Regions from separate parts of the Homo sapiens genome. Here region 2 is linked to region 1. The links are contacts of gene promoters, found by promoter capture Hi-C in human tissues and cell types (Jung and others, 2019). All regions are on one chromosome and are shown on one strand. The core of a region is centred on a gene start or on the middle of the fragment in contact, and the rest is flanking DNA. Distances in the headings are between cores, read along the strand shown. Region 1 holds the start of KIAA0040. Region 2 overlaps COP1-DT (COP1 divergent transcript).

What was found. Contacts are between HindIII fragments. The study calls those that stand out against the background at their distance.
Region 2: a contact is called between a fragment that was not itself captured here and the fragment with the promoter of KIAA0040 in region 1, in 1 of the 25 tissues and cell types used here (heart right ventricle).

Annotation. Positions count from the first base shown.
Region 1 is chr1:175,189,290-175,196,193 of GRCh38, reverse strand. KIAA0040 reads left to right here and starts at 3,418. Exons shown (of 4, transcript NM_014656.3): 1 at 3,418-3,554. RefSeq lists enhancers at 2,756-2,865, 3,586-3,735, 3,976-4,025, 4,166-4,215. The HindIII fragment of the contact is 10,092 bases long and covers 1-6,904 here.
Region 2 is chr1:176,242,888-176,249,106 of GRCh38, reverse strand. The region is part of intron 4 of COP1-DT (COP1 divergent transcript); the gene reads right to left. It also overlaps the pseudogene RNU2-12P. Among named protein-coding and RNA genes, the nearest start is that of COP1-DT, 38 kb to the right of the region's middle. The HindIII fragment of the contact is 5,280 bases long and covers 267-5,546 here.

The DNA.
Region 1 (6,904 bases), core at 2,169-4,668:
ATGGAGTATATCTCTGCTTCCTGCAGCTCTCTTTATGCCTCTGCCATTCACTCTTCTGGAATCCATTTATGTTGCCAGTTTGTACCACCTCTGGGAGATAATTCATTCCATAAATTTATTACCTGCTGCATGAAGTAGTATTTCCGCTGACTTGTCCTGAACTTGCCCCACTCGTGGTTCCAAAGCACTGCTATATTTCAGGATCTGATGAACAAGTCTGTGCTCATCATATCCACACCATTTATAGTCTGATCATTTCCTCCTAACAGCCTTCTCCTTGTCAGCAGCCCTGTGACTTCTACTCAGTTCCTCAGAACATCCATGTTGCTATTTGGGGACTTTCCCTATCCCCGTTTTAACCTTCTAGACCCTCTCACAGTGTTGCAGGCAAGAATACACCACAGTTATTGGTAAGAGTAAAATGATGTTCTCAATTTAAAATTTCCCACACCTGAAAAATGTGTCCAATTTTGTGCAGCACTGTCCTGGATGCAACCACATTATAAAAGACACAGCTTCTAGACTCTGGGTTTGCAAACTCATGGGAAACTGTCTCCAGGCAGCACGGGTGGATCAGTACTGGCCAATACTGCAAGTTAACCTGTCTGAAATAGGGCATTGCCAAGAAAGAAATCCAAGTGTAGTCAGTCTTAGCTTCAAAGCAGACTAAGTTCAATACTTAGCACTCCACTGATTTTTACAGTATCTGAGAGGGAGGCAACCCCTGTTTTCTGCAACATACTGATGTGAAACCAGAGATCAGCAGGTGCTAAAGCTAGTGAGGAGTGGTCAAAAAGGGGTTCCAATTTCCAGTCTCAGTGCACAAATCTGCTTTATTTTGGCTTCTTTTTTTAAAAAAAAAAAAAGTTAATATTTTGTTCTACTCCATTTAGTGCCCACTAAGCTCTTGACCAACTTCAAATATCCTTACTGAAAACAAGAAAAATAATAAGGATTAAGCAAAACGTAGTAGCCCTGTTGCTGCCTGGGGCTGTTCATGAGTTCATAGGAGTTAGGATTTTACTGCCAAGGAATAAAATAGTAGGTGGGTGTTCCAACCTGCTTTTTCATAAGGAACACATCATTCATCCAGGGTGAAAACATCCTTGCCAGATGCCCACTTCTTTTCTTCTGCATAATTGCATCTTCTAGTAGTGTCAATACAGCAACAGACTTTGCAGCCTTGGCAGTCTAGTGTGAGTAAATCCACCATCCAGCCCACCTATAAGTCCCTGATTTCTCTGCCACAGAATTTTCTGGTTTTCAGCATTAGACTTTTCTCCTTATGAATTGAGATAGCTAGAGATACCATCTTATGGATGGCCCTGGTTTCCTTTCTACGATCAGACAACCATGTCCATGAAGCCCTGAGCTCAATTCGATTGCCCCTGTTTTTCTCATTTAGTTTCTTCCTCTTTTCTCTTAAAAGCAACCCTACATACCCATCACCCTGGCCAGAACCAATCTGTAATGTTGCTCCAGACTTTCAGGAAAGTATTTTCTATGGCCTCCCCGCAATAGGCGTCATTCAAGACCTGTACATGATCCCTGCTCAAGTGTGGAATTCCTTCACAGAAGGCAAGTTCCTCCTCTACTAGATGATATGGTGGTAAAAGGATGCACTGGGTCAGGGGGAGCGGCGGTTGGAAACACTTGGATTCAAACCTGGCTCTACCATTTATTAGCTATGTGACCTTGAGGAACTTCCTTAGCTTCCTCTCAACCACAATTTCCTCACCTGTACAATGAGGATAATACTACCTCTCATAAATGTGTTGTGAAAGGTTGAATGATACACTGTGTGTAAACCTCCAGGCAGGAGATCCCCATTCCCAAATTTTCAGGCCAGCATTCAAGGCCTTACTATCATCCATCCCAGGCCTGTCTTCCTCATGGCCCTGTTAGACTCTATACTCTGGCCTTAGGCTCCAGGAGTTTTAGAGGAACCTACATAGGTACATAGGTACATTGTACATAGGTAGACAACTGCAGGCTCAAAGTGTCATTACAGATTTGAGCTTCTCCCGGCTTGTGAATCTAGTCTTCCTCTGTAAAAAATAAATAAATAAATAAATAAATAACTTATTTTCCTCTTTTTCTAGCCATTTTTGGCGTTTCAGGCTGGATGGTGGGTTTTCTCTTTGGCCTTTCAACTCAGAGCCACGTGGTTTCTCCTGAATAAACAGAAAGGAATCTCTTGAATCTCAGTTGTGACAGTTGGTTGCAGCAGTCATTTTAATGCCCACTTGGAGAAGCCAAAGGACACCCATACTCAGGCACAGTCGATGGAGGGCAAGTCCTGGTTCAGCACCTGGCACCTGGTACCTGTGTACCTGGCAAATACAGTCGAGGGAACAGCATTTCAGGCCCTTGTCAGGGAGGACCTCCCAGGATGACACTGAGGAGGCCCCTGAAATGATCCACAGCCAGGTCCTGGCATCCCCCTCTTTTCCCACCCACAGTATCCCTGGAGGCACTGAACAAGCTCTGAATCATCAGAGCTTTGTGTCTGGAGTCCCCTATTCAAAGGGGCGCAGGTCTTTTCATTTCCTAGCATCCCATGTGCTCGGAACTAGAGCCAAGAGATCTGAATAGAAAGTAGATGGAGAGCAGCTGAGGATGAGAGGGAAGAACCCCTGAGAACTTTTTGAAGTCAGCTTTCCCCTCCGTCATTTGCTTGTGACAGACAGCTCCTGGGGCGCAGTTTTCCTTAGCGCCTCCAGGCAGCAGAGACAAAGACTCTTCTGAGATGTCACCTGCACCCCTTGGAGCAACCGGCGTTGGCTAGAGGGGACTGTCATGCTCATTTGTCCCGATAAGACATCGGAGCCTTCACCCAACCTGCCGCATGGTATCCCTCTCCAACGCCTCCCACCCCTTCCAGGAAGGCCCTCTATTTAGGCAGCTGTTTTCCCTGAAGCCGGGTTTGCCCGGAGTTCTGTGTCCCATTCCTGGAACACTGGTGCGTCTGTGAGAGACACCGGGGCTGGCTCCGCAGCCGCTGTGTCCTGAAGGAGGCGTGTTCCGGGACTGAGGGGGCAAGGACACGTAATGGCGGGGGGCGGGGAGTGGGGAGCCACCGGCGGGAAGACGGGGAGGGAGGGCGCGTCTGGGGCGTGTGCGCCCAAGGCCAGAGGCACCCGAGGTGGGCTGGCCCAGGGTGGAAAGCCTGGGCCGAGCCCCTGGAGCGGGCGGAACGGCGAGCCAGATTCAGGAAGTTGTGCCTGTGACATCAGGGGCAGGACAGAGTTGGAGCGAAACCTCAACTATGCCAGGCGTCGGCCCGTAGGAAGGCAGGGAACACAGAGGGCGCTGCCCTCGGCGGCAGCGGCAGGTACGCGCGGGGGTGGAGCGGGGCGGGGCGGGGCGGGGCGGGCGGCTCCCACGACCTTGGCCGGCGCCGGGGCCCTACACGCCAGACCTGGCTCGGGGTGGGAGTGCAGAGGCAACCAAAAAGGAACCCACACCTCCCTCCAGGGCCCGGGGCGCTGTCAGACGGGGCAGCAACCAGGAGATTCCCTGGGCCTGCAGGAAGCCCTTCCGCGGACCGAAAGGTGAGTTTCAGGACTTTCTGTTATGTTTTTTAAAAATACATTTTTAAGCGCCCTCTGTTTGGAAGAAGACGCCCAGTCACTCCTGTCTTTAGAAGGATGAGACCTGCCCCAGAGATACAAGGAATTATTCCTAAGTAGCCTCTTGCGCCTTCACAACTTTAGTTCTGGTGTGTTTCCCTCCTTCGCGAGGACTCTCAGGAGTCTTCCTCTCTGCGCCTGGGCTGAGTCCACATGAACTCCTCGGAGGTCGGCGGTGGAGTTACCTTACTCCAGCTGCCGGTAGGAGCGCTTTGAAGGGGACACATGGAAATTCTGTTTTTTACTGAGAAAGCTAAGGCCTGAGACCCTCCGGAAAGCATCGCGGGCTTAGGTGTTTCTAAACCATTCTAGGTGAAGCCAGATTTTCTCTGGAGCTAAGGAACTAGCCAAAACGAAAATATGGCGTGGAGCCAGGGGCGGAGAGGAAACCTGTTTGCTATTCTGAGAGTTTCCAGGGAGCTTGCTGTGACACAGATTACTTCCTAACTTCTTTGACTCTCAGTGGTCCCACCCCCAGACCCCCCATCCCACCCATGAAGGTAGAGTGGGGGACATAATAGGACCTGTTTCCCTAACATTCTGAAGAGCTTTACGGGATTCATCATATGATAATAGAGTTAAGTAAACTATAGATGATAGCTAGTGGGAAGACCAGTCCTGCCTAACCGAAAGGGAAACTGAAGCACAGACAAGCACTCACCCTAATTTAACAGAACACCGGCAGCCAGCATGCCATGCTACTTAGCGGGATTGTGCCACCGATTGCGTTATACGAGGAAGGGAAGGAAAAGACCACTGGAGCATCTTGGAAGCTCCTCCCTTCTAAAGCAGTTGCATTTCATTTGCTCAGCTACAGCTCATAAGGACCTGAAGCTAATTTTAAGGAACCCTCATTCTGAAGTTCTGTTAGATAATGGGAGAGCCTTGAGTTACAAAGAGCAGGACTTAAACATAGCATTGATGCAACCTGTTCCTAACCCTTTTGCAAATGGTTTGCAAGTTCTATCTAAAGACTTCTGCAAGCGTCTTACCAGCCTTTAAACTGGTTCAGTTGCATCAACCACTTAGTCTGATGTGCCTGCCCTTCACCCAGTGCTGGGCTGGAGAGGCAGCTGTACAGGAAAATCTGACCAAGTCTTTCCTTTTGTCTGAAATTCTGCCTCTCTGTCCCCATCCCAGATACAATTTTAGGAAAGAGATGCGTTGTAAAACAAAAGTTTCTTTGGCCTCCATGCATTGTCAATATTTGGCCTGTGAAATGAGTATGACTTCTGTCCTCTTCCCTAAAGACTAAACCCAAGAGAATAATAAACACTCAACAAACTAAGTTATTGATTTCACCAAAGAGGGAGATGCATCCATTCCATACATTCATTCAACATTTGCCAAACCTACCGTGTGCAGGCCAGTATACCAGGGCCTTGGAGTCCAAAGATAATGAGATGGTTTCTGTTTTTGAGGAGCTTCAGTCTGGTAAGTGAGACAGATACAGAAATAAACTGCAGTTCAGGATAATATACATTGTAATAGCAGTAGCTACAGGGCACTGACTAATCCAGGGGAGAGGGCAGGAGATCCTTCCCCAGAATTATCTGTGAAGTCCACACCACAGAAGTGATGGATGAGCAGGGTCTTGGAAATGACTAGGAGTTCCTAGGGAAAGTGTGTTTTGAACAAAGGAAAGAGGGTATGCAAAGTCAATGGCAGGTAGGGAATAGCGTGTAATAGGAATTACACTGCTAGACTGAGAAGGGTGAACTCCCTCCTATAGGAAGCCATTTTTGAGTTTTTAAGCAGAGGAAGGATCCGGTCAGATTTGTGTTTGGAAAAAGAATTATTGGCCAGATGGGGGCTGGCTTAGAGAGATGGGAAGCAGAGATAATTAAGACCTCAGCTAAGACAATGGCAGTGGGAACTGAGGAAAAGGAATGGATTTTAGGAAGTAGAATCAGAAGTACTTGGTGACCAAGTGAATGTGGTAAAGGAGGAATGAGTGAATAGAGAGTGATTATAAGGTGTTGAGTGGGATAGGCAGGGGAAGGTACCTTGTAGAGCCATTAATAAAAATCATGTAAGCTAGAGAAGGAGTGGGCTTGGGAAGCAGATTGTGGAGAAGGCAGTGATGAACACTTTAGGCATATTAAAGTTGAATATGCCCAGGAAATGTCCAGATGGAGATAAGCAGTTGGGTATACAGGTCTGGAACATAGGTGGAGGTGGAAGGCAGCTAAAGAGGCCTGTGGTAGCACCACATTGGTGCTGAAGAGTCTTGTATTTGTCAATAGTGGCCTATAGATATTTTCATATCATATGTTGACTTCCAGATGACTTTCTCCGAACGCTCAAGGCTTTCTCAGGATACCTTGGAGGATAATTCCTAAAATAAAGAAGAGAATTCTGGGTTCATGGCACATAGATAGTAAAGATGCATTTAATTATCACTCCTCCATGTGAAAAATTAATACTTAGTTCAGTTGTAAGATCTGTGAAGACCTTTCCAGAACTCACACTCCAAGTCTTTAGTTACCTACCCCTGTGTGGGAGAGTCCTGACTTCATAAAAACAAGAAGGATGACCTACTCTGACTAATTTCAGACCCCTACAGAGTAGTTATTTAGGTCTGGCTGCCAGTGCTCGGCTCAGGATCTTGTGTGACCTGCATGGAAGAAAAAACCTTGAGCTTGGAGCTAGAGATACATGGGTTCAGTTCCTGGCTTAACTGCTTATTAGCTGACCTTGAACAAGTTCTTGAAAGCTTCATTTCCCTTATATTTAAAATGGGGATAATTATTACTCACCAGGGCAATGGTTAGAATCAGAATCAAATTGAAAAGGAAAGTACATTTAATGTGCTACATAAATTGTAAGACTCTATAAAAATGTAAGGGGTTTTATTGTTATTTCTAATCTTGCCTCTTGAAACTACCAAAATTAGACGGACTGTGTAGGTGTAAGCTCTGGGCAGCATCTTCAGCCCAGACTTGCAGCTTTCCTATTGTATGACATATTTTAAGGCAGTAATGATAAGTCTCCTTCCATGATATCAATCACATGCATCTACTCTGGCCTCTTTTGTCCTCCTTAGCTAAAATGGTCAGAGCCCAAAGAAGTCAATGCTCTGCTATTGCTTGTGCAGGTTGTGTACTGCACAAGGACTCCTGGGAGTCTTTGGAGCTGAAAGCACCAATATTCCACCTGCTAGGCCTTAGACCCACCCCACTTGCAGCTGAGTCCACATGGAGGGGATGCTTTTTTCTAATTCTCACCAAGGTGCTGGTTTAACCCATTTAATCCAATGGCCCTGAATCTGA
Region 2 (6,219 bases), core at 1,657-4,156, 1.1 Mb before region 1:
TGTCTTCTTTATCACTCAAGGATCAAGAGAGGATAAAGATTTTCATTACTATTATATTTTCGTGTGCTTTCTTCATTTTCCTGAAAAGAATCTTTTGGCTTGACTCATGCATTTTAGTTACATCTTCATTTTGATTATATTCTTAATCATTACAAGTGTTTTTTTGCCCTGAATTCAACTTTTTTGTTAAAAGATGGGGTCTTGCTCTGGTTGCCCAGGCTACAATGCAGTGGCACGATCATAGCCTAGCTCTCTGCAGCCTTGAAACCTTGGGCTCAAGTGATCCTCCGATTTTAGGCATAAGCCACTGTGACTTTTTTGGTATCATCAAGTTTTTTTTTTTTCATTGCATTTTTTTACACTGATACTTTTTTTTTTTTTTTTTTTTTGAGACGGAGTCTCACTCTGTCGCCCAGGCTGGAGTGCAGTGATGCTATAGTGCAGTGGTGCTATCTCGGCTCACTGCAAGCTCCGCCTCCCGGGTTCACGCCATTCTCCTGCCTCAGCCTCCCAAGTAGCTGGGACTACAAGCACCCGCCACCACGCCCTGCTAATTTTTTGTATTTTTAGTAGAGATGGGGTTTCACCGTGTTAGCCAGGATGGGGCATCTCCTGACCTCGTGATTTGCCTGCCTCAGCCTCCCAAAATGCTGGGATTTCAGGCTTGAGCCACTGCGCCCGGCCAACACTGATACTTTTAATTTCACAGGATCACTTTTAAAAACTCTGTCTCCTATAAACAGCATAAAGTTGTTTTTTATGCTACTTTTTTATACTACTAAAAAAGTCTACTTTTTACTTGATTTAAGTGAAATCATCTACTAGAGGAAAAGTAGAAGATTTCACTCCTTTTAAATTATGCATGTGTATATGTGTGGTTATAGAGAGAGAATACATCTTAACTAGTATTCTTTCATGCTTCCTTGGTATTTTATTTGATTTCTAACTTTTATTATGTAGTTTCATTTATTTTGTTTGCTACCCACATCATCCTCTACCTAAGTAATTTGGAAGTTATAATTTGTTTTCTGGTTTTTGTACTATTGGTAACCTTGACATTTTTAAATTAATTCTGAAACATATATTTCTCAATCAGTTCCAGATAAAAAACAGTATAGGTTTAATACTCTCAATTTTTGGTCATGTTCTAAGATTTCATTTTATTATTGTCAAATTATTTTTGCATCGTGTAGCTTTTGTTTCAATAATCATAATAATTGCAGTCTGTTTGGGGCCTAAATATGTTTTTGCTTTACTGGACTTAATGTTGACAATTCATTGTTTATACTACATCTTCTCCAGTTATGCATGACTTCATATTTGGTTATATCCTTTGATTAGCTGGATTACAAATTCAAATAAATTTTTTCAAATAGTACAGCTCAAAGGATTTCTCTCTGTTACCATTACACTTTTAAGAAAACTCAGCCAGATGTAGAATTATTGGGTCACACCTTTCAGTCAAGTATCAATCAATACATTATTCTTCAGTGCCCACATTGTGTGAGTAATTGTGCTAGATACTAAAAATACACAAATGGTCCCTGCCCTCACAAGGATTATATTTAAAAAGCAATTTCAAGAGACTTAAATATTTCCAAGGTAGCATACAGAGTCAAAGGAATATGCAATAATTTAACCTAGTTTTGATTTAACCAAGTTTAAACAATGAGAGAGATATTCTTCAAAGAAGTGAGATTTAAGTCCAGACCTAGAGGATGAGTAGGAGTCAGTGGGTAAAGAATGAGAAGAAGAATGATAGAAAAGCAGACAAATGGTTTCATTTGGACAAAGGGCTTGAGGGAAAAACAGGAGAGCTCTTCTGAGATGAAGCAATGAGGAGCACATAATATGTAGAGAATTTAACATTTAAAAACCTACTAAAGGCATGGCACAGTGGCTAACACCTATAATACCAGCACTTTAGGAGGCCAAGGTGGGTGGATAGCCTGGGGTCAGGAGTTCAAGACCAGACTGACCAACATGGTGAAACCCTGTCTCTACTAAAAATACAAAAATTAGCTGGGTGTGGTGGAGCGCACCTGTGGTTTCAGCTACTCCGGAGGCTGAGGTGGGAGGACCACTCAAGCCTGGGAGGTGGAGGTTGCAGTGAACCGAGATTGCACCACTACACTCCAAACTGTGTGACAGAGTAAGACCCTGTCTCAAAAAAAAAAAACCTACTTAAAATTAGGCTACTCTTTATTAGCAGCATGGGTCAACCATCCTAAACAAGATCAGTGATAAAATACTTCTCCCCAGACTTCTAGTTCTAGATAGGACATGTAAAGAGCTTGAAAGTTGTCACTTCTGGAGTTAAAACAAGGAAAAGCTAGAGAAACTGAAAATCAATTATTTTTCTTGAATTGATGTGGGGCTCAGAAAATGATATTCCAAAGTATGGTGCTTTGGTGTGCTGAGCACTTATGAACTAAAGAAAATTAAAAGACCTTAGACTAGAGCCTCAGAACCAAGGACTTTCTAGCCTTCTCCTGTTCCTCCTCCTAAGCACAGAGTGAAATTGTCTTCCTTAGGTTCATTTATCTGAAGCTCCTCCAGAAAAACACAGTTACCCTCCACCCCCTACCTGAAATTTCATTATCTACCATATAGTAGACTGAGGAATGTAACCACACCTGGACAGACGTTATGACAAAATATTTTCTGTCTCTCATTCAAATTCCAAAGAAACAATTGCAAGCTAATTTCCATCTCCTGGGTCCAGTCATCCTCCCTAAAATTATTTATCACCCTTCAAAAATTGTCTTTCAAAGCCATCTTCCTCTTCCCCAATTTTCTTTCCCCTATGAAGAGGGTATATCAGCTTCAGCCATCTGGCCCTTCTTTGTGTAAAAAGAAGTAATTCAAAATCAAAGCTGAACTACTTACATGACAAGGGATTAATAACCAGAATATATAAGGAGCTCAAACCACTCTACAGGGAAAAAAAATCTAATAACCCAGCTTTAAAAATGGGTCAAAGATCTGAATAAACACTTCTCAAAAGAAGAAATACAAATGGCAAACAGGCATATTAAAAGGTGTTCAACATCATTGATCATCAGAGAACTGCAAATCAAAACTACAATGAGATATCCTCTCACCTTAGTTAAAATGGCTTTTATCCAAAAGACAGGCAATAACGAATGCTGGCAAAGATGTGGAGAAAAGGGAACCCTCCTTGTACACTGTTGGGGGGAACATAAACTAGTGCAACCACTATCAAGAACAGTTTGGAGGTTCCTCAAAAAACTAAAATAGAGCTACTATATGACCCAGCAAACCCAGTGCTGGGTATATATCCAAAAGAAAGAAAATCTGTATTTCAAAGAGATATCTGCACTCCTATGTTTGTTGCAGCACTGTTTACAATAGCTAAGATTTGGAAGCAACCTAAGTGTTCATCAACAAACGAATAAAGAAAATGTGGTACATATACAGATGGAGTACTATTCAGCCATAAAAACAAGAATGAGATCCTGTCATTTGCAACAACATGGATAGAACTGGAGATCATTATGTTAAGTGAAATAAGCCAGGCACAGAAAGACAATCATTGCATGTTCTCACTTATTTGTGGAATCTAAAAATGAAAACAATTGAACTCAGGGTCATAGAGAGTAGAAGGATGGTTGCCAGAGTCTGGGAAGGGTGGGAAGGTTTGGGAAAGAAGTAGAGATGGTTAATGGATACACAAAATAGAAAGAATGAATAAGACCTACTATTTGATAACACCACAGGGTGACTATAGTCATAATAACTTAATTGTACATTTAAAAATAACAGAGTATAATTGGATTGTTTGTAACACAAATCATAAATGCTTGATGGAATGGGTACTCCATTCTTTATGATCTGATTATTTCACATTGCATGCCTGTTTCAAAACTCATGTACCACAGAAATATATACACCTACCATGTACCCACAAAAAATAAATATTAAAAATAAATGAAACAAAGAAAGAAAATCAAAGCTATTGGAACTTTACATGATTTTGAGTCTTAAAGGAATGTGATTATGAGACCTGAGTCATATGACAGGCGATTGTAATCTAAGCAGCTGTAACCTAGGCAGCTATAACCTTTGTTCTTCTGATTATAGATATACATCTCTTACACAAAGTCCTTATGACTATCACATTGCCTAAAATAAAATGTTAAAGATACCCTTCTACGTTGGAAAGGAAAATAAAACAAGCTAAAGCAAATTAAATTACTGTAACTCATAAACTAGCCTTGTATGGAAAATGCTGTCATTCTGTTCAATTTTTTGCTCTCTGCCTATAGAAGCAATGCTTTAACTTTTCAGCTTCTTAGTGCTGATCCCATTTATTTGGCTTCTGTGTTACTGAGATGTCCATTCACAGCATTATGTTTGAAGAAAATCTTTTAAACTAGATTCTCATCCTTTCAATTATTTCTTATTGACATATGGCTCCTGTGCTTCTGCACATTACTAAATTTGTATGCCTTTTCTCTTGCTAATCTGTCCATTATTAGTTCATTTCAGTGAACCTTCAGAGAGTAGAGGGAAAGCCTTCCTTTTTCATCCCTACACAGGACAAATCACAACCCAAAAATGTGGAGAGAGACACAGCTGAAATCTGCACATCTAAATAAGCAGAAGCTGCTGGAGCCATAACATAGTAGAAACATTTAAATGCTTATTTGGGTGAAATGCCAGAGTCTGAGTGTGGACTGGCACAAGAATGAGAGGCTCCTGAGGGCCACAATGTTGGAGGGATCCTCATATTTTTATAAGTTTTGGCTCTAGAAATCTTACCACATTCTCATAGTAAACGCACAGGAAAGATCCCCTGTGGCTCTAGCAGGATGGAGGGAAGAGGGGAGACTAATCATATAATCCAGAACATTCTCCAGAAAAAGGCCTAGTCTCCAGGGAAAAAGACTTCCAGAGACTTATCCTATCCATGACAACTCCAGTCCCATTCACTCTTGCTAGCTCATGTAAGGGTGGAAAAAAGCTAAGAGACATTTGTGAAAGTCATGGTCCAGGGACATCATTATACAAAAGACTGAAATTTAATTATAAGATTATAGAAATTCTTCTTCCCATCACTTCTCAGCCTTTTGGCTAAGATCAAGTGTAGAAATTCTTCTTCCCCATGCGTTATACCACACTCACAGGGCTCCAGTGTGATCACAGTGAATCACAATTGAAAGAGATCCAAGGCCAAGACTTTTTCTGAGGAGACTACAGGAAAGTCCAGAGAAAACAGGGAAGATTAAAACAGGGACATAGAATTTGAAGCTTCTAGAATCTATAACTACAACAAATATTAAGTACACCCCAACTGCTAGCCAGATTAACAGAAACGCTCATACTAAAGACCTTCTACCTCATTTCCTATCGCCTGAAACATAACATTTAATTTCAGCAAAAAATTACAGGGCATACCAAACAAGAAAGAAGAAAAAACAATCTGAGGAGACCGTAGGAGCTAAAGGAAAGCTTCTCTTCCATTCTGTCTGAAGTTTTACTGAAATAAACTAACAATAAACAATAACATGAAAAAAGTACAAATTTATTAACATGCATAAGTGTGGGAGCCATACAAAATATGAGACTCAAAGTAGAACCAGATGATTGAAGCTTAAATAACATCTTTATGCGGGGGAGAGAAGTTAGGGGTTGTAGGCAGTTTTACAGGAATTGTAAATAATTTTTAGAGGAAATGAATGAGCCCAAAGAACAGTCAGTTGTTTGTAAATGATTCTCTTTGCACAATAAATGGAAACTAAGGACAAGCAATATCTTGTGGACTAGATACACAAAAATGAGGGGCAGAACTGCACTATGAACAAAGGTTGTCTGATTGTGCAGATACAGTCTCACAGGTAATTTCTCAGCGCTCCCCTCAGAAAAATAGATGAAAAATCTTTCTGGATGTGTTCTCTTCTCTTCTTCTTAGTTAATCTTTTGCTATTATTTAATGAGATGTCTAGGGAGAGAGTCTTAAAACAATTACACTTCTTTTGGAAAGAAGTTTCCTCAGTCAGATAAAGAAATTCCAGATTGAGCTCCTCCCTGCACTGAGTGGTGGGTATAGGAAACAAAAGAAGGTTATAAAGTTTTTGGTTCTGAGGTAGCCTCTAAGACTGTCTAATTTTCTTTAATTCAAAAATGCTCAGCATACTGAGCACCATACTTTTGGGTATGATTTTCTGGACCAAACAAGACAAAGCAAGCAATGGA